6 separate regions of the Homo sapiens genome follow, and regions 1, 3, 4, 5 and 6 are each linked to region 2. The links are contacts of gene promoters, found by promoter capture Hi-C in blood cells and fetal thymus (Javierre and others, 2016). All regions are on one chromosome and are shown on one strand. Each heading gives the region's core, a stretch centred on a gene start or on the middle of the fragment in contact. The rest is flanking DNA. Distances are from core to core; before and after follow the strand shown.

The links. The method cuts DNA at HindIII sites, captures the fragments that hold promoters and counts their contacts. A CHiCAGO score of 5 or more calls a contact.
Region 1: a fragment that was not itself captured here is called in contact with the fragment with the promoter of LINC02991 in region 2 in 2 of 17 cell types (M0 macrophages and neutrophils); the score reaches 7.9 in M0 macrophages.
Region 3: a contact is called between a fragment that was not itself captured here and the fragment with the promoter of LINC02991 in region 2, in 4 of 17 cell types (M0 macrophages, M2 macrophages, M1 macrophages and 1 more). The highest score is 8.0, in M0 macrophages.
Region 4: a fragment that was not itself captured here is called in contact with the fragment with the promoter of LINC02991 in region 2 in 3 of 17 cell types (M0 macrophages, M2 macrophages and fetal thymus); the score reaches 6.9 in M0 macrophages.
Region 5: a fragment that was not itself captured here is called in contact with the fragment with the promoter of LINC02991 in region 2 in 1 of 17 cell types (neutrophils); the score reaches 6.2 in neutrophils.
Region 6: a fragment that was not itself captured here is called in contact with the fragment with the promoter of LINC02991 in region 2 in 1 of 17 cell types (M0 macrophages); the score reaches 6.4 in M0 macrophages.

What each region holds. Positions count from the first base shown.
Region 1 is chr2:239,979,201-239,982,907 of GRCh38, forward strand. The region is part of intron 9 of NDUFA10 (NADH:ubiquinone oxidoreductase subunit A10); the gene reads right to left. Among named protein-coding and RNA genes, the nearest start is that of MIR4786, 38 kb to the left of the region's middle. The HindIII fragment of the contact is 527 bases long and covers 1,461-1,987 here.
Region 2 is chr2:239,576,897-239,580,339 of GRCh38, forward strand. LINC02991 (long intergenic non-protein coding RNA 2991) reads left to right here and starts at 1,405. Exons shown (of 2, transcript NR_172921.1): 1 at 1,405-2,028. The HindIII fragment of the contact is 7,503 bases long and covers 1-3,443 here.
Region 3 is chr2:239,889,222-239,892,983 of GRCh38, forward strand. It overlaps a transcript of NDUFA10 not described here. Among named protein-coding and RNA genes, the nearest start is that of MIR4786, 52 kb to the right of the region's middle. The HindIII fragment of the contact is 3,479 bases long and covers 1-3,253 here.
Region 4 is chr2:239,847,302-239,850,815 of GRCh38, forward strand. No RefSeq gene overlaps it. Among named protein-coding and RNA genes, the nearest start is that of MIR4786, 94 kb to the right of the region's middle. The HindIII fragment of the contact is 209 bases long and covers 1,537-1,745 here.
Region 5 is chr2:239,316,395-239,320,083 of GRCh38, forward strand. All of the region lies in intron 2 of HDAC4 (histone deacetylase 4), which reads right to left. Among named protein-coding and RNA genes, the nearest start is that of MIR4269, 13 kb to the left of the region's middle. The HindIII fragment of the contact is 5,835 bases long and covers 1-3,689 here.
Region 6 is chr2:239,960,819-239,964,588 of GRCh38, forward strand. It overlaps NDUFA10 (NADH:ubiquinone oxidoreductase subunit A10), which reads right to left. Exons shown (of 10, transcript NM_004544.4): 10 at 1-368. The coding sequence ends at 300. Among named protein-coding and RNA genes, the nearest start is that of MIR4786, 20 kb to the left of the region's middle. The HindIII fragment of the contact is 1,357 bases long and covers 573-1,929 here.

The DNA of each region.
Region 1 (3,707 bases), core at 474-2,973, 400 kb after region 2:
TTTACACCAAAGTTCCTTTGTTACAAACGGCAAATTCCTATCTTAGAACCCCACCCCACAGCCCACCCCACCCAGCTGCCACTACCTGTCTCTATTGTGCTTTATAGTTAGACCCCAGTGCTGGCTGAACTGGCTCCACCCCTCTCCTCCAGTCACACACACAACTCTGCAGGAGAGGCAACACAGCAGAGGCCCAGGGCTCCACCGTCCGGTGAGGAAAGGCCACCACCAGGCCCTCAGCAGCCCGCTCCCCACCCTGCACCTCTTCCCTGACTCCCTCTGCTGGAATCCTTCAGCAATAGTCTGCTTAATTTTGAAAACCTAAAAAGCAAGAAGCAACTTGGCTGGGCAAGGAGGGGCAACAATGCCCCTGTTAAGTGGGGGCTCTCGGGAAAAGAGACAGTGCCTACTCTCAGCGCCCCCGCCCATAGCACCAGCACTCTCACCTGCACCACCAGGACCCTCCCTGACCGCCTTGGCCCTCTGCCTTTGCCCCCACAGTTGATACTCGACGTGGCAAGCAGAGCAACCCTTTAAACCTGAGACCCAGATGATGCCACTCTCTGGCGCACCAACGCCACCACCTCACCAGGAGTACCGCTGAACTGAGGTCCCCGTGGCAGCTGCGGACCCCGGCTGACCTTGGCCTGCTGCCTTTTCAGCTCACTCCCTGCTCAAGCTCACCCCACCCGCATCACACCTCACCATGACGGGCTCTTCTCTAGCTCCAGACCATGTCCACCTGTTCCTGCCTTCCGGGGGGTGCCTGCTCCCCTACACCCCCACATCCCTCACTCCCCTGTGGCGCCTGCTCCCCTACACCCCCACATCCCTCAGTCCCCTGCGTCAGGTGCCTGAGACCTCTCTCCACATGGCAGCCTCCTCGCTGTGCTTTCTCCAAGACCCTGGCACCCTGTTACCTGTCTATCATCTGTTCTCCCTGCCCACTAGGAGGTGAGCTGCATGAGGGCAGGGCTTGGCTTCACTCTCGGGTGTGGCCCCAATGCTTACAACAGTGCCTGGCACGATAAAGATCTAATCAGGGCTAAGTGCAGAAGTGGTAGGACACTGGGATGACACTGTCGGGCAGGGGGTCTGAAATGTCAGGCTTGGCAGCAGGTATTGGGATAAACTGTCATTCCTACTACCTTAGCACTCCCAAGATGCCTGACTCTATCTCTGGGATAGAACTCAGATTAAATTAAAAGGCAAGAATTCTTTGATCAGCCAGGTTTCCCTTCTGTGCCTTCGGGGTTGGGGATTTAATCAATTCTGCATTCTGGGGGACTGTTCATTGGGTAAATACCTATTGAGTATATAAAATGTAGACTTTCTAATTCAGACAGGTCCTCCACAGAATGGCTACAGAAAGAACCAGCACCAAAACAGGGTTTCCAGTTATAAAGAAAAATAGGGGAGCCTTCCATTTCTAGCAAAACAGCAGCCCTAATATGCAGAAAAGCTTCTTGATATAAAAACCTCTGGAAATGCTTCTACATGTACAGCTGAGCTCCGCAAGAAATCACAAAGGGCTAAGAAGGAAGAGTGAGTGGAAAAGCCAGAGTGGTGAGCTGAAGCCGCGGTGCCCTCGGGACGCCCAAGAGCTGCAGAGAGCCACAAGACACGGCCTGGTGTCCCTGTGAGGTGACTCCTGAAGGGCCACACCTCAGTGCGGGGAGAAGGCCTCCTGCCAGCAAGGAGACCCCAGCTGGCACCCAGTGGTGAAACCATTCTCCACTGGGAATTCGTAACCAGAGCTTCTCTCCACACAGGTTCGAGGGTTGAAATTTGCATTACCTCCAGGGCCTGGAATACCACAAGCAACAAAGGTGCCATCAATCCCTCCCTGCTCCTCAGGAATCTGAGGCCTGGCAGCAGCAAAGGGTCCTTTCAGGAGTAGGGCTGCCAGGACTGAGAAATCATATAGGATACCCGGTTAAAAACCTTGGGACATACTTATACTAAAATACTAGCTGCTCTCAGTTCAAGCTTACCTTGGCATCCTGTACTTCATCTGGCAACCTGACTCAGGAGGGACCCACTCTCACCAAATGCCCATGGATGGAGCCCCACAGGGCAGAAGCTCTGTACCCAAAGTCTCCAACACAGTCAAGAAAAGAAGCCACCATGGGTGAGAAAAAGAAGAAACAACGAACAAGATCAGACAGCGTCCAGAGCAGCGCTCCAGAGACAGAGCATAAAATAACTAGGTTTAAAATGTCTACAGAGAGAAGCAATGGGGGAATTACCAACAAGGAATAAGATCCTACCAACAAGATGCAAATAGCACTGGCATAAAGAAAAATTCAAATCTAGACCCATCTCACAAAACTACAAAAACACTAAAGTCAGAAAAATCAGGAAAATCCTGGAAGAAAAACGAAGACTATAATCCTTAATCTAAAGAATAAAGGTCAAAGCATTACTCGTTTTCCAAGAATCAGAAGTGCTACCTAATAACTCCTAACCTCCAGGTATCAACAAGGACAATACCCATCATAAAACATGCATGCAACGTCCTGGGCATGTTACAATACACAGACCACCTATTTACAGAAGCACAGTGCAAGTATATTTTAAGTTTCTCATGAAATTATAAGGCATAGTTTTAGTAATTTTATTATTTTTAGAAAATTAATTGGGATTATAGAAATTCTCATGTTAATGGCAGAATTTGGCTAAAACACATATTTTCAACATTAAAAAAAAAAAAGTCTCCCAGAAAGCGAGAAATTGCCTAGCAGGGTAATGGGCTTCTAAGAACCACTGCCATGAAAAGGCATCCATGGCCTCCACTTGCTCCAGGAAATAACCGGCTGCCAACTACCTTCTGCTCTAATAGTCACACGTTCTGTGGAATGTCCTCAAATGCTGTTTGCTCCCCTGCAGCAAACCAGTGACCTGACACGTGTACCTGAAGACCGATGAGAAGGTCTTCCCACCTCCAAAGACCAGTGAGAAGCACTTCAGGACCCTCTCTTGTACTCTGCACAGCCCGCTGCGGGTAGGGGATCCCCAGCTACAAGGTTAGACGAAACAATTCTGTTCACCTCGCCTCTGACAAAGGCCGACTTTACTTTTCTTTAGTTACTTGTCTTTTGCAATTTTCATAAAGCAAAACCTGAACTCTTTTCTAAAAAGATTCTTGTCTTGATTGTATTTACTGTTTCTTCTAACGTGTAATTATAGAAAACAGCATTTAATTTTGTTAGCAATTCAAACATCACAATAATTCTTGCTAAACCTCAGAACCTCTAACTGTGACCCAACTAAAAACAACTTCAACTGTCTTTGCCTGGTGGCCTCTGCGAGTTGAGGTGTCAGAGACTGATGGCTCCTTGGGCTCTGGCATGTTCTCCATCTGTTCTGATGAGATCAGACATACCTCCACCTGCACACATTCCTGTCTCCAGGCCCTATCTCTTCCTATACACTTTCCATTTTTCTAGCTATGCCTGTTGTCTCCAGCTGAACTAGACAGAAATGAGATGAAGGCAACCTGAAACACAAATGATCCAAGAGAAACTACATTTTCATGAACATTTGCCTTCCTATTACACCATTAGTATTTGTTTTCAAAAGAAGGAAAAGAGTTGGAGAAAATGGGTTTTATAGTTAGGGTTTGATTTTTAACGTGTTTTTAGAGCAACAGTTGTTTTTTCCGCTCAGCATCTGATGGAAATTGCTGCTAGCACAAGCTGTCTGTC
Region 2 (3,443 bases), core at 155-2,654:
GCAGCCAGCGCTACCCCATGTGTCTACTCCAAATCTTAGGTCTCTGACCTCCAAGTCCAAAGCTCAGCCGCCTGCCTTACATCATGCCACCCCTTGTCCATAACTTGACTTTGGTCCTGCAGGGGTTGGAAATGCACCATTTTGTGTACATGCTGGTCCTCATGCATGTAAAGTGAGGATGCCTGATTATCCACTGAATATCTTGTTTAAATAAAGTTTTGCTAATACCTATGTAGATATACTTCAAGATCTTTGTTGGGCCACTAAGATTGGTGTTTGGGTGTAGAGACTGGGGAAGCAACAGGAAAGATTTATTTTTAAGGATGAGCAAGGGATTCCTGGAAGGTCGCCTAAGAGAGCTCCAGATTGTCCTCCTTGAAGCTGCAGCAGGAAGCGGGTTTTATATGTTTGTTGTGTCTGCGTCATGGGATAGACTTTTCTACTGTAAAATGAGATTTTTTATGCTATGCTAAACACAGATGTTTTTCTCCTCCCGCCAACACTTCACAGGCATAGGGACCCCTCCCAATGTCACTGTGAGCTGTGAGCACTGAGATGGCTCCGAAGGCAGGAAGAGAGCTCGCTGGAAGTCCCAGGGGAGCAGGGAGAGAGCCAGGTGCCGCCCAGATGCTACACATGCCCTGTGGCTCTGCAGGGCGTTCTCTGGAAGAGTCAGGCCTCCTCCAGCTCCACCAGCATCATGGAGGCTGCTAAGCTGCCTCAGTTTCCCCAGTGCAGCTGTGACATGGGCCTGAAGGGACGTGGAGAGAGGCAGCTGATGTCTCCGCGCTGGCTGTGTCACTTGTGCTGGGTGGTGACCAGGGGCCACACCCCCATCCAGTCACATTAACTTACATGAAAACCTCCAGGTGATGCCTCCAGGGGCCACTAGGCTCCCTCAGGTCCCTGGACCAAGGCTGTGACCTACACAGATAGATTCTGCCAATTTCTCCTTGAGGGTCATGATGCTCTCCTCCTGGTCCATCTCAGAGTCTTCACTGGAGAAAGAAGTTTCCATCTACAAAGTGTGCTCCATGGAGACATGGCTCACCTCATTCCAGACTTCCATCTCCTTGGAAAAGTGACAAAGGATCTCAGAGGTAGGAGAAAGGCCCTGAAATCCCAGCACAGGCACTCGGGCTATGAAGGGTAGGAGGAGCGGAGCTGGGAGCCTGGGCTTTGAGGCCTTGCGAAATCCCCCTGTGCCACCGCCCAGCCAGACACACGAGCAACCCACCAAGGGGCGGGTGGATGCGGCCTTGGAATTCAGAGTTCCCGTTTGTAGAAACGAAATGTTTATTTCATGATGCAGTTGGGGGTAGAAAATGGGGATAAATCTCTAATTTCTCAGATTTCCAGAAATCGGGATTTTCCCTAAGTACCCCTGGCCTTGAGCTAAATCCCGTCACTGTCTTGGGCTGTGTGCTGACGGGAGCCAGGGCCTTGTAAGGCCCAGACCCTCCTCCTTCTCTCCCGTATTAGTCAAGGTTCTCCAGAGAAATGGAGTTAGAGATGCATTGCTATAAGAAATGGAATGGGCTCGCATGATTACAGAGGCTGAGGGGTCCTACACCCTGTCGTCTGCAAGCTGGAAAGGCAGGAGAGTCTGTGCTGCAGCCCTAGCCAGAGCCTGGAGGCCCGAGAACCAGGCACGCCGACGACAGCACACTTCCAGCCTGAGAGCAAGAGAAGGTCAGTGTTCCAGCTCCAGCAGGCAGGCAGAGGGAGGGTTCTCTCTCCACCTTTGTGTTCTACTCAGGTCTTCAATGGGTTGGATGAGGCCCATCCACATTGCGAGGGCGTCTGCTTCACTGAATCCACCATCGTACCTGCTTCTCTTGGATGCCGTCCGATTGCAGAGACGCTGTTCCCTTGAGGGTTCCTGCCCCACCGTGTGTGCTGGTGCTAGGATGTCTGCCCTGGTCCAGCCCTGCACCCCTGAGTCAGAGGCTCTTACTCTGGGTTCAATTAAGAAGGTTATTTGGCCCCCACACAAAGCTAAGACTTTCACCTTGGCATTTGTTAGGAGTAAGTAATAATTTGAGTTCTATGTGTTTTATTCTTTATCTCATGTCCAACTTGTTCTGAACCTGCATGGGGAAGAGGTGCTCTTAGTATTAAGCACTCTCAAAGGCCCTCAGTTCCTGGAGTGAGGAACTTTGAGAAATAAGAGGTGATGGGGTGAGGAGGGCAGAACACACAGTGAGAGGGCTTCACTGGGCGCGACGTGTGGCTTTGGGCCTTTCGGCTTAGATTCCAAACAGCACGTTTGACCTTGAGGTCTGCAATGGTTCTCCTGGGTGAGGCCTGGACCCCTGTGGCCCGGGCATGAGACCTTGAGCTCAGGCCATGCCATGCCTGACCTTGAACCTTGCTGATCAAGGCTTCGCCCACAGGCGAGGGGTATTCCAGGGAAGCAGGAAGTGTGCAGCAGGCACTGACCAAAGATGTGCCGCCCTCTGCAGAGGGACGAGGGGCCAGGCTGGGCCTTAAGGAAGCCCTGACGTATGCCTATCCTGGTGACCTTGCTCCGGTGGCCACCCTGTCAGGGCCCCTGCAGCCAGATGGAGCCCAGCAGTGCAGAGGCCTCTTTTCAGAGGCAGGTGTGTCTAAGGCTAGCATTTGGTTAAAGAGGATGAAGGCTCTGCTGTACAGGCCTTTTAAACCCTAGGTGGATGTATATTAGTCTGTTTTCACACTACTAATGAAAACATACCCAAGACTGGGTAATTTATAAAGGAAAGAGGTTTAATGGGCTCACATTACCACATGGCTGGGGAGGCCTCTCAATCATGGCAGAAAGTGAATGAGGAGCAGAGTCACGTCTTACATGGTGGCAGGCAAGAGCGTTTGTGGAGGGGAACTCCCCTTTATAAAACCATCAGATCTCAAGAAACTAACTCACGACCATGAGAACAGTATGGGGGAAAATGCCCCCATGATTCAATTATCTCCACCTGGCTCCGCCCTTGACATCTGGGGATTATTACAATTCAAGGTGAGATTTGGGTGGGGACACAGCCAAACCCTATCAGTGGAGAAAGGCCTATTTGCTGCTTTTACTAAAGTTCCTCCTTTAGGTCTGTGGGCAGAGGTTTCACCCTGAGGCAGCTGCTCTTGTGTGCCTTAGAGAACCAGGAAGGTGCAGGACGCAGGTGGCCGTGTCAGGACAGGAGGCAGAGCAGACCAGCTGCCCTGCACTGCTCTCTGCACTCCAGCCTGGGAGGGCTGTGCACAGGGGGACTTCAATGTCTGTGCTTTGTCTCCCAGTTCTGGGTAATGCCCAGAGCGCAACTCCCAAGTTTGTTCTGGACTTGTTCATTGCAGAAGCTCCAAGCAGAGTCTGAATCTGTGTATTTTAGAGATCTAAAAAGTGGCTTCCTTCACAGGAGGGTGGAAGTTTCTAAATGTCACAGATAAGGAATCAGGGCCTCTTTATGAGG
Region 3 (3,762 bases), core at 264-2,763, 310 kb after region 2:
ATTCACCCACCCACTGGATGGCTGGAATCTCAGTAATGTCTGACCTGGCCTCACACTGGACGTGTCTGCCTGGCCCTGAACGCCTGCTGGAAGGATCCCAACCCTGACTCCTGCCTTGTCTCACCTTCCTTAGGGTCAGAATCCTGCGCCTCAAACACTGAAAGTATAGCTTTCTCCGGTGGACTCTGGCAGGACAAATCAGAGCCCCTACCCCTCGCACCATTAGCAGCCTCTGGCAGAAATCCCCCGGTCCCACTCCATCCCCACAGTGACCCATAAGGGCTCCTTCCCCAAGCAGGAGTGGGAAATGGCAGGATTTGGGCACCCACCCTTCTCAGTAAGGGCTTGATCAGATGCACCTCACACACTTGCTTAGATAACTTGCAGAATTTCTGCAGCTTGTCTTGAGTTTATTTTGGCTCAAATCATTATATTAACTTGCAAATAATAGCAATGGAGAACACAGGCTTGGGCTGGGGCCAGCTCCCCACTGATGTCCCCACAGTGGACACAGGAAAAACAAGCCTTCATCTCTCCCAGGTCAAAAACATTAAAGCATGAGCAGATGGAATCCTAATAGGAGTTGTCAATCTGAGCCTTTGGGGATTTGCTGATGGTGACATCCCAAGGTCAGGGGCAGGAACCAGGGTCCAGGAGAAGCTGTCCGTCCTGTGTTCCAAGCCAGCACGGGCTCTGCTGAAGCAGATGGGAGGGCAAGACGGCTGCAGTCACAGCTGCCCTGGGCCTGGCTGCCCTCTCCAATGTGCTAGCCAACAGGGAGCGGGCGGCGCAGACAGCCTGGAGAGAGTGGGGCCGCAGCTTCCCATTCGGAATACGAAAGGAAAGGCCTGATGCAGCTGCCTTCAGATGGATAGAGGCCAAAAAGATGGTCTTAGGACATAAAGCAAGACAAGTCACTTCCAATCGGGGTCATTCAACAGCCATGTCTACAAGAATTAATTTGTGAATTAAACAAACGTTACTGTTAGAAAAATGAACTGGAAGAGAATGTTACATTTGCATAAGAAGAATGGAAGAAAGGGGCACTTCTGTGGAAGATGGAGGATTTGACACTGAGAACTAGCATGCGCCTTGTGATTTCAGTGAATCATGGTAAAAAGGAGATGTTGGAATTCACTGAGAATGATGACAAGGCTGCGGAAAAAGATGATAAGCTGACACCCGGGCAGCTGAAATACAGTCAGTGGGCGAGCAGGATCACAGCTCTGATTTGGAGGAACAAGCGGATGTTGCATTACTTCTAAAACCACCTAGTGTTTAACAGCCATGCCGAACCCCACTGCATTTAAATAAAGCAGAGGGATGAAGCCATAGCAGAACTTTGGGGTATCCCTGCTCCTCTCTTGCTCCTGGTGCTCACAAGCAAACAGGTGGCTTGGCAAATGTGTTTGTTTAGGACACCTGGCCTCCTCTGTAGCCCACTGCGACGCCTACGGTCTCTGTTGACTCAAGGTGTCTCTCTAGGTCAGAGCTTTTAGACTCCAGAGTTGATCTGGAACACCTCAGAGTGGAGAAGTTTTGCTGAGTTCTCATTTAACATTTTAAAAAAGCAGTAACACATGTTTGATTGTTGCTTATAAGATAAATACACAATTTTTTTTTTTTTTTGAGACGGAGTCTAGTTCTGTCACCCAGGCTGGAGTGCAGCGGTGCGATCTCGGCTCACTGCAAGCTCCACCTCCCGCGTTCATGCCATTCTCCTGCCTCAGCCTCCTGAGTAGCTGGGACCACAGGCACCTGCCACCACGCCTGGCTAATTTTTTGTATTTTTAGTAGAGTTCCTGGCCAGGCATGGTGGCTCATGCCTGTAATCCCAGCACTTTGAGAGGCCAAGGCAGGTGGATCACCTGAGGTCAGGAGTTTGAGATCGGCCTGGCCAACGTGGTGAAATCCCATCTCTACTAAAAATACAAAAATTAACCAGGCGTGGTGGTGGGTGCCTGTAATCCCAGCTACTGGGGAGACTGAGGCAGGAGAATTGCTTGAACCCGGGAGGCGGAGGTTGCCGTGAGTCGAGATCCCGCCATTGCACTCCAGCCTGAATGAGTGAAACTGTCTCAAAAGAAAAAAAAAAAAAAGATATTCCTGATCCATCACAATGTGTGGCCCCACAGTCAGCCCTCACATGAAGAAACTGATCAAAACAGGGTCCTTGGCTTAGGGTCCAGGACCCCCTTGCAATGATACACAAATATTAGTGTTGGAATACAGCATTTCTTAGTACCATCTCCGCAGGAAGCATAACTTCAGTTATTATTCAACATTCTCAATGGCCTCTGTGTACCTGAAAAACAAAGTTTGGCCAGGACAAAACTACATGCACCATATCTTGTACTAAGTTCTTCACTGTCCAGGTTGAATATTACAGGTTAAGACACAGACATTTCAGAGTAAAGCTGACCCACAGAAGTACAGTCCTGTGCTGCAGGATGACATTTTAGGCAACGAGAACCACATATACGGTGGCAGTTCCATATAAGATTGTCATATTACATTTTTACTACACCTTTTCTATGTTGAGATATGTTTAGATACACAAATACTTAGCATTGTGTCACAGTTGCCTGCAGTATTCAGCACAGTCACATGCTGTACAGGTCTGCAGCTTAGGAGCAATAGGCTCCATCCAGCATGCAGCCTTGGTGTGTAATAGGCTATACCACCTAGGGGAGCTGCAGGCACACTCTATGATGTTTGTATAATTATGAAATTGCCTAACAATGCATTTTGCAGAACATATTCTTGTCATTAAGTGATGCATGACTATAGTTTTCTCATTCACAGTCCTTCCTGTGTGCTCCAGCACTAAGCATCAATGCCTTCCGAACAAGGCTGGACCGGTTCAGACACCAGCAGGACCTAGTGGCCCAGGATGGATGTCAGATGGTCAGGTGAGTGAAAGGATAAGCAGGGAGAATTTCTAGATGGTCTCTAGAAATTCTGCTAAAATTGCTGTGGCTCAGATACGTGACAGCATGGCTGTAGTCCCGTCATCGATTTTTCTCTCTGTAAATTCTTCGAATGTCTGGATTCCTTCACAGGATGATGCTTCCCCAGTGCCCAGGGTGCATGGCCTGAGTCATCCCTGCTAAGTTCTGCTAACGACCACCTTTCTCTAACAGTACCTGAAATCAACATTTTATAGAGTGCTGGGTTTGTGAGTAAGTTGGTAGCTAGAAGGAAGAAAACAATTCTTATGTTTTTGTTTTTAAAACATACCCAAGTCGCCTGAAGCTTTAATGCTGTAAGATGACGTATGGGTGAGGACTTTTGGTTGCACATAACCGAATGATCTGGAATCATTTAACAGAAAAGTGAATTTACAGGGATTCTGGGACAGCCTTACGTACCAGGGCTGGGACGCAGACCAGGAACGGATGGAAGCAGGGAAGGGAGAATGCTGCTCTCGGTTTCAGGCCACGTCCTCGCTCTGTATCGCCTTCATCCGCTTCACCCACAGCCCACCTATGCCACACAGTGGACATGTCCTTAGTTCCACCACCCAAGCAAAACATGACTTCTCTTTCTCAGCTTTGTTTCCAATGCCATGGTGGAGACCATGGTTCTGGCAGAAACCAGCTGGCACAGTTGAGTCAGGTTTATCCCAGGAGGAATTGGTAAAGAGACTATCTACAAATGTGTAGGCAGGGGGGCAAGGAAACCACAGGGGACAGCATCATTTCTGGAGGCCAGCAACGGTGAGGCTGTTAGCCCCCCTCACCTAAAGGAACGAGGGCAGAG
Region 4 (3,514 bases), core at 391-2,890, 270 kb after region 2:
CTCCTGGCAGGAAACCAACCGCAAAAAAATCGTGCATTAAATAACCAAAACTAAGGACAGAGTCCATTTCACTCCCCTGCCACCTCTACCGGAGCAGGTTCAGGTATCCATGGCTGAGAGATATAAAGATAGTTCATATCACAGGACTCTGTGCAGACAACCCCCGGTACCAGCTTGGAGCCTGGTGGCCCTGCGGGGTGGCTAGATCCAGAAGAGAGATAACAATCACTACAGCTTGTCTCTCAGGAAGCCACATCCCTAGGAAAAAGGGGGAGAGCACTACATCAAGGAAACACCCCATGGGACAAAAGAATCTGAACAGCAGCCTTGGCCGGGTGGGGTGGCTCATGCCTGTAATCCCAGCACTTGGGGAGGCCAAGGAGGGTGGATCATGAGGTCAGGAGATCGAGACCATCCTGGCTAACACAGTGAAACCCTGTCTCTACTAAAAATACAAAAAATTAGCCGAGCGCAGTGGTGGGTACCTGTAGTCCCAGCTACTTGGGAGGCCGAGGGAGGAGAATGGCATGGACCCAGGAGGTGGAGCTTGCAATGAGCTGAGATCATGCCACTGCACTCCAGCCTGGACAACAGAGCGAGGCTCCATCAAAAAAAAAAAAAAAAAGAGAATCTGAACTGCAGCCTTCTGGAGCTCCAGATCCTCCCTGTGACATAGCCTATCCAAATGAGAAGGAACCAGAAAAACACTTCTGGTAATATGACAAAACAAGGTCTTTAACACCCCCCAAAAAATCACACTAGCTCACCAGCAATGGATCCAAACCAAGAAGAAATCCCTGATTTACCTGAAAAAGAATTGAGAAGGTTGATTGTTAAGCTAATGAGGAGACATGAGAGAAAGGAGAAGTCCAATTTAAGGGGAAAAAAATGATACAAGAAATGAGGGGAGAAGTATTCAGAGAAATAGACAGCATAAATAAAAAACAGTCACAACTTCAGGAAATAAAGGACACAGAGAAATGCAAAACTCTCTGCAAAGTCTCAGCCATCGAATCGAACAAGCAGAAGAAAGAACTTCAGAGCTCAAATACAAGGTTTTAAAATTCACCCAATCCAACAAGGATAAAGAAAAAAGAATTTAAAAAATGAACAAAGCCTTGAAGAAGTTTAGGATTATGTTAAATGACCAAACCCAAGAATAATTGGTGTTCCTGAGGAAAAAGAGAAATCTAAAAGTTTGGAAAACATATTTGGAGAAATAATCAAGGAAAACTTCCCAGTCTTGCTAGAGACCAAGACATCCAAATACAAGAAGCTCAAAAAACACCTGGGAGATTCATCACAAAAAGATCATTGCCTAGGTACATTGTCAACAGATTATCTATAGTCAAGATGAAGGAAAGAATCTTAAGAGCTGGGAGGCAAAAACACCAGGTAACCTATAAAGGAAAACCTATCAGATTAACAGCAGATTTATCAGCAGAAATCCTACAAGCTAGAAGGGATTGGGGCCTTATATTCAACCTCCTTAAACAAAACAATTATCAGCCAAGAATTTTGTAGCCAGAGAAACAAAGCTTCATAGATGAAGGAAAGATAGGGTCTTTTTCAGATAAACAAATGCTAAGAGAATTCGCCCCTAACAAGCTAGCACTACAAGAACTGCTAAAAGGAGCTCTAAATCTTGAATCAAATCCTGGAAACACATGAAGACAGAACCTCTTTAAAGCATGACTCTCACAGGACATATAAAATACAGAAAACAAACAAACAAACAAAACCTAAGCTTTACAGGCAACAAATAGCACAATGAATGAAATAATACATCTCAATACTAATGTTGAATGTAAATGGCCTAAATGCACCAGAATCTACAAGGAACTCAAACAAATTAGAAAAAAGAAAACATCAAAAATGGGCTAAGAGCATGAATAGACAATTCCCAAAAGGATATATACAAATGGCCAACAAACATATGAAAAAATGCTCAACATCACTAATGATCAGAAAAATGCAAATTAAAACCACAATGTGATACCACCTTACTTCTGCAAGAACACCCATAATAAAAAAATAACAGATGTTGGTGTGAATGTAGTGAAAAGAAAACACTTCTACACTGCTGGTTGGAATGTAAACAAGTACAACTACTATGGAAAACAATGTTGAGATTCCCTAAAGAACTAAAAGTAGACCTACCATTTGATCCAGCCATTCCACTACTATCTACCTAGAAGAAAAGAAGTCATTATAAGAAAAAGATACATGCACATGCATGTTTATAGCAGCACAATTTGCAATTGCAAAAAATGTGGAACCACCCCAAATGCCCATCAATCAATGAGTGGATAAAGAAACTGTGGTGGTACATATACACAATGGAATACTACTCAGCCATAGAAAGAAATGAATTAATGGCATTTGCAGCAATCTTGATGGGACTGGAGACTATTATTCTTTTTTTTGAGACAGAGTTTCACTCTTGTTGCCCAGGCTGGAGTGTAATGGTACGATCTTGACTCACTACAACCTTTACCTCCTAGGTTCAAGCAATTCTCCTGCCTCAGCCTCCCAAGTAGTGAGGATTACAGGCATGCACCACCATACCTGGCTAATTTTGTATTTTCAGTAGAGACAGGGTTTCACCATATTGGCCAGGTTGGTCTCGAACTCCTGACCTTAGGTGATCCATCCACCTTGGCCTCCCAAAATGCTTGGATTACAGGCACAAGCCACCACACCCAGCCCAGGAGACTATTATTCTAAGTGAAGTGAATCAGGAACAGAAAGCCAAGCATCATATGTTCTCACTCATAAGTGGGAGCTAAACCATGAGGATGCAAAGACATAAGAATGATACAGTGGGCTTTAGGGACTAAGGGGAAAAGGATGGGAAGGGGGTGAGGGATACATGACTACAAATTTGGTTCATGGTATCACTCAGGTGATAGGTGCACCACAATCTCACAAATCACCACTAAAGAACTTACTCATGTAAGTAAACACCATCTGTTCCCAAAAAAACCTATGGAAATAAAAAAAATTAAAAAAAAACTTTATAATGGCACCCAGCGCATTATAGCACTGGGGTATTCTGAGTATGATTATGAATGTATTTATAGCAGTGAGTTATATGCTTTCATATTTTTTCATAATGGTAATTATCACTTTTGTTTCCAGTTGTAGCACTGTCTTAAGCATTTCTTGTAAGACCAGTCTAGCGGTAATAAATTCTCTCAGCTTTTGCTTGTCTAAGGTCTTTACATCTCCTGCATTTCTAAAGGATAGCTTTGCTGGATATAGTAATTTCGTCTGACAGGCTTTTTTTTTTTCTTTCAGCACTATGAATATCTCATTCTCTCCTGCCCTGAAAGGTTTCTGCTGAGAAATCTCTTAATAATCTAAAGAGGATTCCCTTATATGTGACTTGATGCTTTTCTCTTGTTGCTTTTAGAATTCTCTCTTTGTCTTTAAAGAGTTTGATTATAATATGCCTCTGAGAGAGTCATTTTGGGCAGAATCTAATTCGGGACTGTTGAACTTTTTGCATCTG
Region 5 (3,689 bases), core at 601-3,100, 260 kb before region 2:
TTTGAGACCAGCCTGAGCAACACAGCAAGACCCCATCTCTACAAAAAAATTAAAGATAAAAAAATTACCTAGGCATGGTAGCACGGGCCTGTAGTCCCAGCTACTTGGGAGGCTGAGGCAGGAGAACTGCTTGAGCCCACGAGGTGGAGGCTGTAGTGAGCTGTGATTCTACCACTACCCTGTACAGTATACCAATGGGCCCTAGGTAAGAGAGCGGCTGGATGAATTGCAGAGTGTATGGCTGTCCACAGGAATGAGCAGGAGCCTGTGGACAGACGTGGCGTGGTTTCCAGGACATACTGCTAGGGAAGAGGAGTTCCCTGTAGGACATTCTTTCCGTGCAAGAAAGTGGGCAAATGAAAGCACACAAGGCCACCCAGGAAAGAAAGGGTAGCTCATGGGGACAGGGTGGAAAGGACAGGGGACAGCAGGGGTAGGGGACCCGCTTCTCTGAGTCTGGCTGCTACACAGTTCTGGCTTTTGAAGCTGCAATTGGGTTTCACATCATCAAAAAGTGAAAATTAATACAATCAAAAAGTACACAGGGGGAAAAATTCTAAACTGAAATACAAACAGAAACAAATAACCAAACCCCATTTCAGATGAGTAACAACCACGCTGGGGCAGGGTGGGGTGTGCGTAAGAGCTTGCCAAAGTGGCTTTTAGACCCGGTATCTGGACCATACGCCTTCAGCGACTGCTGGACTCTAGTTGGGGGTTTCTTTTTCACAGAGGCATAGGTTAATAATCTCTGAGTATTCTGGGATTGAGACTGAACAAATAAGTAAGTACATGATGGATTCTGAGAGCTCCACGTCTCCTTGTCAGCAGAGGGAGTAACAAATGTGAAAGGAGAAGGCCAGCCGGTGGCCTTTGTGAGGCTGGGCTGGAAGTGAACTGCCATGTGTGTGGGTGGGGCCGGCGTGTGTGGGTGCAGGGGCCGATCTACACACATCTATTCACAGCTCTGGCGGCCGAGAGCTGGTTTCTAAATAGCATTCCCCGAGAAAGGAACCAGGCCGCCTTGAGAAAAAGCTGATTCCAGGCCAGGACAGGGTAAGTACAGGCGAGATTAGGACATTTTGTGTATCCAAGAGAGTAAAGAAGGGTCCCAAAACGGGAGGGACCTGCCAGAAACGCCAGCATGAAGGGGCTCTCATTGGCCAAACTGGAACAATTTGGGCAGCAGAATAGATATTGATAATAAAAGGTTATAACCCAGTTAATAAATTAGGAATCTATGAGTTCAAACTAATATAAGTAAACAATAAGGAAACACATAAATAAGGAGGAAAGGAAAGCTCTTTACAGGAGAAAGTTAACTACAGGAGTCCACATTTCACGTTGTCCACAGGTTCTTGGAAACCGCAACTTTAAGCCAACGACAGAGGGTCCTCAAGCAATGCCAGTCGTTTGACTATAACACTGGTGCACTGGTGAGAAAAATAACCTTGGTTTTATTCTGTATTATTTCACTTAAAAGTCAGTTTCCAAGAACCTCCTGAGGTTAATGAGGGCTTCCCGTCCTGAATGTAGCAAGAACGGTGACACTAGATGACCATTTCACTTAAAAGTCAGTTTCCAAGAACCTCCTGAGGTTAATGAGGGCTTCCCGTCCTGAATGTAGCAAGAACGGTGACACTAGATGACCAGTAGCCACCACCACGACAACAACAGACTCCGACAAAGAACCATCAATGATGCTGAGACTTGTGGGTCAGTGCTCGGGGAGTAGCAGGCTGTCTGCACAGTCCCAGATTATCTCCCTACCAGATACCTGCTAATTATGCAGGAAACAATGTAACTTCACAGTGGAAACACCCGCCAGCATCACCTTCACTGAGAGCTTCCGGGCAGCATCAGCAGCAACGAAATACTGCGGTGGCCGCCAAGCCCAGCGGCATCACTGGAATCCAATCACGAGGAAACATGCCGAAATCCCAAGCTGAAAAACATTTTACAAAATAGCTGCCCCTACGCTTCCAAAATGTGAATGTCACGAAACATAAAAATGACGAGGAGACTGTCCCGGAGCAAAGGGGACTGGGGAGGACGTGAGAATTGAAGGCCCTGCAGGGCCTGTCATCTGCTGTTGATAACGAGACATCACTAGACTATCAGCGAAACATAAACAAGGCCTACAGATGAGAGAACAATGCCTGCTCGCTGTTATTTTCCAACTCTACTCACTGACCGTAGTTGAAGAGTGACCACGCTTATCTGAGGCAACATGGCCTGGATTATTAGTTGGGGGAAGGCATCACATCTAACACTAACTTTCAAACGATTCTGAAAAAAAAAAAAAGGATGCATATCAATAAACAGTAATTCTTTGGACTATTTTTTGCTGATTTTCTGTAAGTTTGAAATTACAGCAAAATTAAAAGTTAAAAAGAAAAAAGTTAAGGAATAAAATTCCCCATTATTATTGGAAGACACTAATCTTCAGATTCAGGAAGTCCAAAAAAATATCAACAGGGGTAAGTGAAAACGCTTACAAAAATGTAGAACACTAAGACTACAAAACACCTAGAGAGACACAACGGATTCCTGCCAAGGAACGGAACAGCCCCAGTGGAACTGAGTGAACCAATCACATCCTCAGAGCCCTGGGGAAGAGCAGCTGCCTCCCCAGCACTGTCTTCTGTGAGGGATCATTCAACAATGAAGGAAAAGGAGGCAACTCTCAGACGAACAAAAAACGGAACTTCTGCAGGAATTTCTAAAGGATATTACTTCCAAAGGATATTACTTCCAGAAGAAAAGTAAGAGCAAAAAACCAGAATATCTGATATTCAACAAGAAACAGCAAGCAAGTAATATCCACATATAGGAAACTTTAAGGAGCAGTGGCCATAGGAAGCTGTGACAATGAAGGCAGCACACGGCCGCAGCCTCCCGTTAGCTGCTGGAAGGAAGCCACACACACCCAGATATTTCAATTCTGCAAATGATTAAGAAAACGAAACCAACAACAAACATAAAAATGGGTGACCCATGTCAGAAGACACTGACAGCCACAGCAGGCTGGCGGTCAGGCACAGGCCAGGCGAGGGCCACCTCCCGGGACCGAGCAAGGCGCCCTGGTCAGCCTGAAGACACTGGCACTAGGTCTAAGACGGTGTGGCCGTGCTGGAGGTCACGCAGAGTTAAAAGTAGCTTACCCGTGACCCGGCACTCCCATTCCCAGGCAGGAACCTGGCAAAGACCCAAGTTTGCGTGTGTCAGAAAACACACAAAAGAATGTCCACAACATCATGTTTGAGAGCAGCCACATCTGAACATGAATCAAAGTTGTGAAAATTCACAAAATTGAATGCAAGACACTAATGAACACCAGTCACCGACAGCTACAGGCAGAAACCTGGTTCTCAAAAACAGTCCTGCCTGAAAAAGAACCCACGAAATAGAAAACGTATAGTATAATTCTATTTACATGAAGTTCAAAAACATAAAACTAAAATCATATTGTTTAGGAACATGTGCATGTATGATAAAACTTTTTTTTGGAAACAGCAGAATGAAAAGCAAACATGTAAATGTCCTTGTAGTGGTCTCTGTCTCACAGAGCACACGGTCACTGCTATTGTATTGCTTTAAATGATGCAGATAATGTCTATGAATTGTTTAATTCTTTAATTAGAGATTTATAATTAAAATTTAAAATAAATGCGTGTGGAGGGGATAAA
Region 6 (3,770 bases), core at 1-2,500, 380 kb after region 2:
GAAACCACAGGGGCTGCCGAGAGCTGGCCTTTCACAGCAGACCACTGTTTTCCAGTGAGAATGGTGGGCCATTCCAAAACAAAGCTAAAGGGTTCCAAACATCCAGAATGGAAGCTGCTTCCCCCAACTCCATTACCTATACTACAGGATGGATTGCTTTTTGTGAGACCCCTTCTTCCACTGTGCAATTTTTGCATTATTTACCCTCCCCCGATCTTAAAGCTATATGGCGTCCAGGAGAGTGCGGCTGATGCAGCTTGGCCATCACTGTGATGCAGCTGGAGCAGAAGGCGGCCCGTTCACTTCAGCCAGATCCACTTGTCTCCCACCTCGGTGTTGTACCCAGGGCTGTACTTGCGGCCCGGCAGCTGTGGGGGAAAAAGGCATTGGTGCATTCTGTTTAACGTGAATGAATGTTTCCCCAGCTCATAGTTCAATGTCTACCCGGCAGATGCCTGTACTTCATGAGTTCCTTCAGCAATGCTGGTGAGCACATGATCTGTGGCAGGTGTCTCCTGTGAGTGCAAGGATGCCACAGGTACACAAACCACAACCCAGCCCTGCCTGCCAGAAGCTTCTGTCCTAGGGCTGGGAGCCACAAATGGAAACGAACTACTGAGTGTTCTCATTAATGTCAGGAGGGTGACAAGAGCCACAGGAGGGGGACAGAGAGCAATGGGTGGCACTTAGGGGAGGCCCTGAGCAGGGACAGCCACGCAGACACAGGGGTGGGGCTGGGACCCAGGAACCACAGTTCACCAACTGAAACACCGAGTTCTCTCTGAAAAAGCCCCGCGTGAAATTCCCTCTGAAGAGGGCCTGCAGAGGCCGGGCCGCTGGCTGTAAGGGGCCCTTGGCGGAGTAGGAAAGTGAGTTTCATCCAGGCCTTTTAAGTAGACATGGGCAGGGTTCAGGAAAACCAGCAAAGGAGGGGGAAGCACTGCAGGACTGACCCTAGCGGGAGCCACTGAACATCCAGGAGCGACAGGACGACAGAGCCCAGGAGGAGCGGATGCTGCCAGAGAGGCCAGTGGGGGGCTGAGCTTGGCAGTGATGGAGCTGCAGAAAGGATGTTACAGGCCCCACTTCTCCCACCATCTGGGAGAGATCAGGGGCTCAGGTGGCGGTCCACAGAGGCCAACCTCACAGGGCACAGGGAGATCTGGGGGGCAACAAGAGCCCCTGCCAGCACAAAGACGCCTGTTCATGAGGGTAGGCGGCCAGCACAGGGCTGGCTGAGACGGAAAGAGGAGTGTTGCTCCGCAGGACCACCTCGTTGCGGAGCCAGGAGAAAGCGCTCAGCACGGTGTGTGTCGCCCAGCGATGGCAGGTGGGAAAATGATGAGTTTTTTCATATTTTCAAATCAGCATGGGCACACAGTCAATTTGTGTACACACACACACACACACACACACACACACCCCTTCCAAATTCTGCCCTTAAGAACAGGTACTAAAACCATTTTTAAAAGAATCAGCTTTTCCTTTATCCTAATCAGCAGCAGGCATTCACAGCCATCCACACAGCCATGGCTGCCTGGATCACAAATCACTGAAATGTGCCTTGCCTGGCCTCTGCCACAGTGGCCACGCAGTGACAGACGAACACACAATGCATCCTATGAAGCAGCAGACAGGTCGCCCCAAGACCAGCCATCTCACACACAGGACAGGCAAAGCTCTAGGATCTTCAAGGCCCAGGAGCCACCCTTCCTCCTCCCCAGAAAGCCTCTCCTCTCCTAGGTGCACAGCTGTGAAGTGGGACCTGGAAGTGGAGGGGCCGGTGCTCTGTTAGTTCATTCTTGCACTGCTATAAAGACATACCCGGGGCTGAGAAATGCAGAGAGAAAAGAGGTCTAATTGGCTCATGGTTCTGCAGGCTGTGTGGGAAGCATGGTGCCAGCATCTGCTTCTGGGAAGGCCTCAGGAAGCTTCCAATCATAGTGGAAAGCAAAGCAGGGGCAGGTACGCCACATAGTGGGAGTAGGAGCAAGAGCAAGAGCATGAGGCGGGTAGGGGGTGGGAGCTGCCATATACTTTAAAATGAGAGGTCGACGCGCACTCTGTGAGAACATACTAATTACCTCCAGGAGGGCACCAAGCCATTCATGAAGGATCTACTCCCATGACCTAAACACCACCCACCAGACCCCACCTCCAACAGGGGATCAGATTTCTACATGAGATCTGGAGGGACAGACATCCTAACTACATCAATGCCCATCTAAAGGCGGGGGGGAGGGTGGCACAGCCAGCCTCCAGCTTTCTGGCCCAGGATACAGTGTGGATACAGACGGTTTTGTTTGGGTGCCAGGAGAATTCTGGGACACACACAAAAAAAGAAAAACCCAGCTCCTTCAGGAGTTTGAAATCTGAAGAGAGACTGAGATGAAAGCCCAGGTCATTCAGCCAGTGATGCCAAGACAGCCCAGGGGGTTTGGTATTGTGGGATCCCAGGAGGGGGCGCAGGCAGCTAGTCTGGCAGAGTCCAGGGAGGCGTCAGGAGAGTGAGGGACCCTCCAGGGCCAGGGGGATCCCCCAACACTGCTGCTCGAACTACAGGTGTCTACAAGTGGCAGGAAGACCGCAAGAGAGGGACGTGACTTTCTGGCTTCACAGTCTGACAAGACCTTTGGCCTAAGTTGTGACCTGTGTCAGACGGGCTGTAGGTGCTATTTCTAGACCGGGGAGCAGTGACGGGCACCTGGGGCTGGCCTCAAAGGGCCTGACGGGGTCAGGAAGGCCTGGGTGAGAGAGAGAAAGAGCTGGTCAGCCCCAGGGAAGGTAAGTGTCCGGTCTGCTTATAGAATATGTGCAGGGTGTGGGGGCTACATGGCGGGTTGCCCCATAGAGATGACCCGTGGGCAGTTGGAAACCTGCGTCTGTGGCTTAGAAGACAGGGCTGTGCAGCCACCTCCCAGTAACTGAGGGAGGCAGCGCCATGTGAGCCGACCATCCAGGGTGCTGGACAAGAGAAGAGGCCAAAGAGCAGCACTGCATGGCTGAGGCCTGAGGCTGCAGAGGGACTGAGGAGTGAGGCACACAGGCCACCGGAGGAGCTGGGTGTGACCACGCGTGACATACGGGGCCTCGCGTCACGGTCACCAGATGGCCACTAGCTCTGCACGAAGACAGGAGGAGCGGGGTGGGAAAAGACCACACTAGCGGGGAAGCAGTCAGCAGCTGAGGAAGGGGACACAACACCTGGGCCACCTTTCACACGCCAGGTAATGGCACGTATGTCTATGCCTGCACGCCCATGCATGTGCAGGGGGCTGGTAGGCGGGGTCTCTGCATCAAGAAGTGGTGGAGATCTCTATCTCAAGATGCCCAGCCTCCAGAACCTGTGAACACATGAGCTCACCTGGCAAAAGGGCCTCTGCAGCAGGAGACTGGGAGATCATCTGGGTTATCTGGGTGGGCCCCAGGCCATCACTAGGGTCCTCAGAAATCAGAGAAGGAGATGTGACAATGGAAGCAACAGCCACAGTAATGTGGGGCCAGGTGCTGAGGAATGTGGGCGGCCTCTAGAAGCTGGAAAGGGAAAGGACACCAATCTCCCCTTGAGCCCCCGGAAGGAGCCAGCCCCGCCTGCACCGTGATTTTAGAACCTCTGCCTCCAGAACTTTAGGAGGATGCATGTGTATTGTTTTAAGCTGCTAGAGAGTGGTAGCTGGCAGCAGCAGCAGCAGACGACTCCTGCCGGGTGTCTGCTTTTTATGATGGGAGATACCGGGTCACATCTGTACACCAGGAAGAAAAAAACTGTG